2 separate regions of the Homo sapiens genome follow, and region 2 is linked to region 1. Evidence: promoter capture Hi-C in 16 types of primary human blood cells and fetal thymus (Javierre and others, 2016). All regions are on one chromosome and are shown on one strand. Each heading gives the region's core, a stretch centred on a gene start or on the middle of the fragment in contact. The rest is flanking DNA. Distances are from core to core; before and after follow the strand shown. Region 1 holds the start of KCTD9 (potassium channel tetramerization domain containing 9). Region 2 has its middle 77 kb from the start of EXTL3-AS1.

Region 1 (3,839 bases), core at 1,152-3,651:
TCAAAAAGTGACTCACACACACATTATTTTCTAGTATTGGCATCAAGCACGACTCTGACTTGGGAACATTATCATGCTGGGTGCCCTGCGATTCCGTGATCCCTGCTATGCTAAATGAACTGTGCATGTGCAAAGAAGTCTCTCTGAAGAAGCAAGTTTGCAGAGTAGGCAATTTAGGTACCTAAAATATGACAGTACGTATAAACAAATAAAGCTGAGTTATATTAAAGTTATTTTTAAACTTGAAAAGCATTACAACAGAATGACAACTTTTCTTACCTGCAGAGTTCCTAACAAAGCTTTCAGGTGTAATTCCCAATTGCTCTACGGTTACTGTGGAAAAGTTCAAAGGTGATTTAAAAGTATCTGGTGTGCAAGGATTAGGAGGTAATTCGGCATGCTTCTGAGGAGTCACAATCTTCCCAGTTCCCAAAATGAAAGAGGCATTTCCTGAAACGGACGACATATTGTAGGGGTGAGGACAACTCTCTGTCTAAACCTTCAACTTCACAAGGAGGCAGATCATCACATACCAGCATTATTCATTGCAGACTCCTTGGTTTCAGGGGGCTTGTCTTTTGAATTGGCATCCATCTAAGAGGTGAAGAAAAACAATGAAAAATAACCCCACCAGCAAGATGAACGTGATTCGATCACGTACCTTATTCAGGACTGAATTGTAATACAGTCCATACTGGCATAGAAACACACGTCACAGGTTTCATTTTTTATTTTAATTTCTGTGGGTATACAGTAGATGTATAATTTATGGGGTACATGAAATATTTTGATACAGGCATGCAATTCGTAATAATCAAATCAAAGTAAATGAGGTAGCCATTATCTCAAATATTTATCCTTTTTGTTATAAACAATCCAATTATACTTCGTTATGTTTAAATGCACAATTAAATTATGGACCGCCACCCTGTTGTGCTAGCAAATACTAGATCTTATTCATTCTTTGTTTTTCTACCTATTAACCATCTCCACTTCCTTCCCATCCATCCCCAATACACTTCCCACCCTGTGCTAACCATTCTTTTACTCTAAGCGCGTACTTTTAAAGCCAAATTAAACAGAAAGAAATGGAGAAAACTGCTGTTCAGGCACCAAAGCAGACCCCAAAGGATAAGCCATGGCTTTTCAACCGTAGCGAAAACCTGAATCATAAGGGTACCCCTCTCAAGACGCAGCTCTATCCATTTCCAGAAATTCTCTCAACAGGTCCGGATGCACTCCTGGTCACCCAGAGCAGCTCCTGACAGGAGTACTAATTCTGTGCTGCAGGGTAAGCCGAACAAAGTGCCTAGAAATGCCCCGGAGAAACAGCCCCGTGGCAGCGCGGATGCAATCCTACCTCTCACGCCGCACCTGAAGGCCCGCCAGGCAGACAGGCTTACTCCCAGAGCCCCGTGGCAGGCGAGCGTCGCGTCGGCCGCTCCTTCCAGACCCCGGCTCCTCTGTCCGGAAGGGCTCTCCTGGCAAAGCACCCGCAGCCGGGAGCCGCTCTTCGAACCCGGAGCCCGAGGTCCCGACGGCTGACCTGGACTCACAGCCTGCGCTGATCCTGGCCTGCGCTCTGCCCGGCAGCCTCCTCCACCCGCCTCCTCCGCCCGCCGACCGATTCAAATCCCCGACCCCGCCCCTCGGTACCGAATTTACTCTACGAATCACTCCGCCACCTCCCCCTTCTCCAGTCCGCGCACACTCCGAGCGCTCCCAGGCCTCTCCCTCGGCACTGGAGTGGCTTCCTGGGCTCGGAGAGGGACCACCGCGAGCTGCAGTCAACCCGAGGACTACAGACACCTGCCACTGCCTTGTGACCTCGGGGACTACTTTTCAGGAGAGTCTCGCGGAGTAACGCTTCTCTTAGCGCTTTAACTCCGCCTCCCACCTTTCTATTGGATGCTGCAAACTTCGAAAAGACTCATTCAACCAATCCTAACAGAGCGACGAGCTGGCTCTTACCCAATCAGTCCGTCCCTACCGCAGCCGTTTCCTAGCTGGGCCGGCTTGTGGGCGGGGCTAACGCTGGAGGAGGGGCTGACTGGTGCTTGGGTCCCTTTCAGCGCTCCACCTCCTTTCCCCAGACCCCGCCCTCGTATGCAGATAAGCGCTACCTAAACTAGAGGGTGCGCCTGCTCAGTAACGCTGGAAGCCGCCGTCCGGCTCCAGGAGCCTCTCTGATTGGCTGATGCCCCTTCCCGTCTACTAGCCTTCAGCGTCTCTTCCCTCCCTCCGTCCCGGCTAGGTTAGCCAGAGCCCGCCCGATACTGGGTGCTGATTGGCTGGACTCTGTCCGGTGACGCGGGTTGGTTGGTACGGCAGAGTGTCAGTCTCGGAGAGGTGGGGGAAGGGCCCCAGGCAGGCTGAGGAGCCTAGGGGCGGGGTGGGAAGGAGGACCGGCCGAACCTTGGGTGTGGGACAGAGTGCGTGCGTGTGGTGTGTCCCCAAGGGCAGGAAGGTGGCGAAGGGAGGCGAATCCGAGTGGGTGGAGGGAGGGGAAGGGCGGGAGGAGAAAAAGGTGGGAGGAGGACCAGGTGGGAGGGTGGCGGCTCACTCAGGACCCAGCGGGGGCAGCGCGATGAGGCGGGTGACCCTGTTCCTGAACGGCAGCCCCAAGAACGGAAAGGTAACGGGGGCGTGAGGGGGCGCGGCGGGCCGGGGGTCGGGGCGAGGGCGGACGGTGCGGAACCGGCTGGCGGGGCAGCGGTGAAGTTGGGTAGAGGGGCTGGGAGGTGGGCGTGCGCGGGCTGGGGGCGCTCGGGGACAGCACAGGGTCCCCGCGGCCTCCTCCCGACCCTCAGGACCCCCGTGCCCGAGCCTGCCCTTCAGTGCCTCAGCTGCCTGGGGGCCGGCGCGGTTCGGCCCGGGGGCTCCGGGTCTCCCGGATGCTTGGTGCGGGGGGCGCGGGGACGGGGGCGCGGGGAGGGCCGCGGTCACCTGGGCGCCCGGGCGGTCGCGCCTCTTCCCGCCTCTCCCCGAGACCCCGCTCCCGCCTGCGGGAGGAGGCGCGCCGGCTCCGGTGCTGAGTAATGATCTGCTCGGAAAGTGGCGGCGAGCACCAGAGCCTGTGGAGATGGGTCAGGGAGACAGAAGTAAACTGCCCGTGGATAAACAAAATCTCCCATCCGAGGTCGCAGACAGGATTTTTAAAATGGGGGCATTTTCTTGTTGATTTTTGCCCTCCTCTCTGAGATGCCTCAAGCCCCCACGCCCCGCCGCCGCCAAACTTCTCTGTACTCTTTTTATTATTTTGCCTTATTTTGATTCCCTAGAGGACGGGTACAGCAGACCCAAAAGGGATCGATTTGACAGTCGCCTTTGCTGTGTTAGGCCTTTGCGGAGAGTGTGGTGCTCAGTGTTCTTCCAGCGCTGGAGCAAGCCAAAACGAATTCTCTTCCTTCCCAGCCTTTTGCCCCACCCATGAAAGTTGTTCTGCTCCTTTGGGAAATTTTCACTGTTCGAGGCAGACATTTATTGCGTTGCTAAATGATACCTAGAAGTAACTCAGCCTTTACGAGTCTAAGGTAAAGGTAAATGGGTCTCGCTGTGTTGGTTGCCAAAATACTCTGCTGCCTGCACATTCGGGGAACACTGTAAATTTTTAAATAGTGAAATTGTCCAGTGGCATTAAAAATGGCTTTCCGATTATTCAGTGTAGAGTAAACATGCTCCGAAAATTCGAACCAGAGTGTGGTTTGTTGGCTATAATTTTATGTTCTTTTGGTCTTAGAGATTTAATACTCATTTAAAATCAGAATTCGTATAAATTCGAGTTCTTGAGTTATCATGAATGCTACCCCGAAAATATGTTCACGAAGTTTACATTTCTC
Region 2 (3,674 bases), core at 321-2,820, 3.2 Mb before region 1:
GCCTGGCCTTTACCTCCATGATTTTGTTAATGTTTGTTCCCTCTACCTGGAGCAGTCTCCTCCCACTTCTGGCTAAAACTTAGTCATCCTTTAATACTAATTTCAGGCACTGATTTTTTCAGAGGTCCGATAGCACTACGAGCAGACATCTATCATCATACCAACTGCATAATTATCTCTGGGTTGATTTCCCCAACTAGATCAGCTTCTTAAAGTCAGATGTTAAACTATTTATCTTCATATTCCTAATCCTAAAACTGTGCTAGGGTGTTTATTGAACAAATACATGAATAGGAATAGAGTGATGTTTTTATTATTGGAAACCTGGACAGTTCATGTATGAGTGACTATCTCCTTCAGAATAACTACTTCTATAACCTCACATTACATGACTATTATTTAAAAATTAGTATCATTAGACAATAATTTTGTTTTAAATTGGCACCACAAAGGGGGAAGCCACAGAGGAAATGCTCTGAGTTCCTCTCTATTGTTCTTTCTGCGTTCCTTTTTCCCTTCAAAATAAATGATGTGTTTTAACACAGAGCTACTCATGTCTTTATGGTTCTTCTGAGAGATGTTTCTGTTTCATCAGTGTCTAAGAAATATGCCGGCCCCTACTTCTGAGGTCTTGATGACACAGCCTCCATTTATAGATCCTATGTGCAGTGTTTTCACTAGGAGTGAGCTAAAGCTATGAGTCCAGTCTTGCACTTAGTAGGTAAATAATCTGCAGAAAAAATGAGTAATTGGTGAGTCACTCACCTGTTTGAGTTAACTCCTCTAAGTGCCGGTCTGTAACTGCGGGTCAGTTTTTAAAGTTTACCTCCTTTAGAAGCAAAAAGTATGCCAGCTGTGCCTTTTTGGAAGCATACAGGCATTGGAAGATTGTAAAAAACAGTGGGTCATTTTTTAAATTAACCTAACGTGTGTGTATTCACAGTTGATGCTGGAGATACTTGATCTGCTTATTTTTTTAGTTAGCCCATGAATTTGTATTTAAATTTCTTGATCTGAGTGTCAGTGTCTTTCCATAGGAATCACTTGAGGGTTTGGGTTTACTGATGTTTGCAAACCACTGTGCAAAGTTATTGTCTGAATTTAACATGTTTTTAAACTTCCTTTTAAGCTTCAGATGGTGCCTTCTAGTTCTTATGGTGTCGGTGACTATTAATAACTAGATTTTGGTTTTATCTTTTGGGTTTATTGTCCCTCCAGGGAAGTCAAAATGGTAATCACTAACATATACTAATTTTTTCTTGTTTTTAATCTTTTAAAGATTTGTTTCTTTTTACTCACAATTACAAAATGATTTTTATTTTTTGAGACAGGGTCTCACTCTGTCACCCAGGCTGGGGTGCAGTGGGGTGGTCTCAGTTCACTGCAACCTCTGCCTCCCAGGATCAAGTGATCCTCCCACCTCAGCCTACCAAGTAGCTGAGACCACAGGTGCTCACTACCATGCCGGCTAATTTTTTCATTTTTTGTAGACATGAGGTTTCGCCATGTTGCCCAGCATGGTCTTGAACTCTTGAGCTCAAGCAATCCTCCCACCTCGGCCTCCGGATGTTCTAGGATTACAGGTGTGAGCCACCACACCCGGCCTCACAATGCTTTTAAATGAATATTAACGTGAGATGTGGAATATTGTATGTAATAGGCAATTCATAATTTCACATTTTGAAAAAGAACTGATAATTCCAGAGCAAAGTACTCAGAGTTTGTTAAGGACCAGCAGGAATTTCTGCTTAACAAAATATTTAGAATCCCAACAACTCTGAGACTTATCTCCTTTCCCTGGGGATAGGTAAGGTGAGAACAATTGGAAAGAATTTTCTTCAGTTCTGGGGATGAGGAGAATTTTCTTATTATCTCAAGTCAACAGGTATGACTGTCTAGCAAAAAAGGAATGTGAGTTCATTGCTAGCATTTTAGACTTGGAATGAACAATAAATATAATATTAATAGTTCAACCTTCTCAGAGGCAGAAACGTTTTAAAACCAAGCTTGCCTGATTTCCCATCTGCTGCCTTTTACGAGCAGCAAATTTGTTAAGGAGGATCATGTTTACCTGATGAATATCTTTCAGTTTTCCTAATTATAACCTTTATTACTAAATGCCTAAAGGAGTTCACAAGTAAAATCAACCAATTCGTATTTATGGGAATGAAAATATAGGGGGAAGGTTTTAAATAAAAACATATCTTTAAAAACATGAATTATGTTACATGGGGGATAAGGATCAAAAGACACACGTGCTTTGCCAAGCCTTGAAAAGTAGGCAAAGATGGGGTCTAGACTTTCAGCATGGAGCCTTCAGGACAGGACATGCTTACCAAGGGGTGAGACTGAACGGATGGAGCCCTGCAGGGTGACCCAGAAACAGGCTGAGGACAAACACCAACAAAACTCAGCATTCCGAGCGCCCCCTATTCCCGGGCTTCCAATCTGCCAAACTTAACTTTTGAAAAGCTCAAATTGTGGGATCCCAAATTAAAGTCAGCTGTGCTGAGGGGCTCGCAGGTACGGCTGGCTTTGGGGTCCGCATTCTGTGGTGTCCTCTGGGGTAGGTGTGTTTGGGGCTGCAGGGACTGGAGGGCACCCACGGCACGGGCTTACCCACGGGGACAGCGCCTCCTGACAGCGCGCGAGGCGGGCGCGTGGCAGATGCCGCTTACCCCGTACCCGAGGCAGCAGGGGTCGGGACCCCCGCCCACAGTGTGATACGGACCCCTGCCGACAGCCACACTCTCCCAGTTCTCACAAATTCCCGCCTCTGTAGAAACCCAGCCCAGCCCACCCCGGAGTTCACGTCCACACTCCGAGGCAGGGGACATGGACCGCGAGCTTGCAATCGCCCGCCCCAGACGCCCAGAGCAGGCGCCCCACGTCCGGCCCGCGGGCAGGACGACGGGGCCAGACAAAGAGTTTTAAAATCGATCCCCCGGGTAAAGCCCGGGCTACAGCGAGAAGTGCGAAGCCGTCTCTAAATTTTAGCAGCTCGCCGCTTCTCCCGTTGGCACGACGAAGAAAAGACTTCCCACCCCCGAAAGGGAAGATCCCGAAGAGCCCCTACCTCGCTGCAGCGCCAGGTCCCGCGGTCTCCAGCGGCGGCCACTGCAGCCGGCGACAGCGCCAGCGGCCCGGCCCCGCCCTCTCCACGGTCCCGCCCCCTGAGGCCCCGCCCTCGGCTCACCGCATCCCCGGCCCGGCCGGCCGGCTCCCGGTCCCACCCACTGCCCCCTGGGAGGCTCCCGGCTCCGCCCCCCGAATACCCCGCCCACCGCCCCCTCGGCGGCTCCCGGCCCCGCCCCCTAACGCCCCGCCCACCGCCTCCGCGTCGGCTCCCGGCCCTTTCCTCGGAGGCCCCGCCCTCGCCGGCTCCCGGGCCCGCCTTCTCGCGGCCCCGCAGCTGGGTTCAAGACTGTCGTGCAGGCCCCAGAGCCCGGTGCATTGTGGGACGCCGCAGCCAATGCCGAGCCTGCGCTGCCTCCTGGCGGGCGCCGCTGCAACAACACCAGCACCCGGCTGCACACGGCGGAGGGCTATACGGCACCGGGCGCCTAGCGCAGAGGGCGCCGGTCGCTGGGGTCCGGTAAAACATGAAAATGAGCCGGATGCTTAGAGTGCGGGGCTACCTCCCGCTTAGCGACATAAGGAAACGCGAAAACAGC

What was found. Contacts are between HindIII fragments. The CHiCAGO score rates a contact against its expected background, and 5 or more counts as called.
Region 2: a contact is called between a fragment that was not itself captured here and the fragment with the promoter of KCTD9 in region 1, in 3 of 17 cell types (fetal thymus, naive CD8 T cells and total CD4 T cells). The highest score is 6.0, in fetal thymus.

Annotation. Positions count from the first base shown.
Region 1 is chr8:25,456,995-25,460,833 of GRCh38, reverse strand. KCTD9 (potassium channel tetramerization domain containing 9) reads left to right here and starts at 2,401. Exons shown (of 12, transcript NM_017634.4): 1 at 2,401-2,635. The coding sequence starts at 2,588. It overlaps CDCA2 (cell division cycle associated 2), which reads right to left and starts at 1,601. Exons shown (of 15, transcript NM_152562.4): 1 at 1,361-1,601; 2 at 534-594; 3 at 280-450. The coding sequence starts at 594. RefSeq lists enhancers at 1,703-1,932, 3,303-3,352 and silencers at 2,073-2,282, 2,643-2,692. The HindIII fragment of the contact is 4,823 bases long and covers 302-3,839 here.
Region 2 is chr8:28,622,213-28,625,886 of GRCh38, reverse strand. It overlaps a transcript of EXTL3 not described here. Among named protein-coding and RNA genes, the nearest start is that of EXTL3-AS1, 77 kb to the left of the region's middle. RefSeq lists silencers at 3,130-3,389, 3,311-3,674. The HindIII fragment of the contact is 877 bases long and covers 1,132-2,008 here.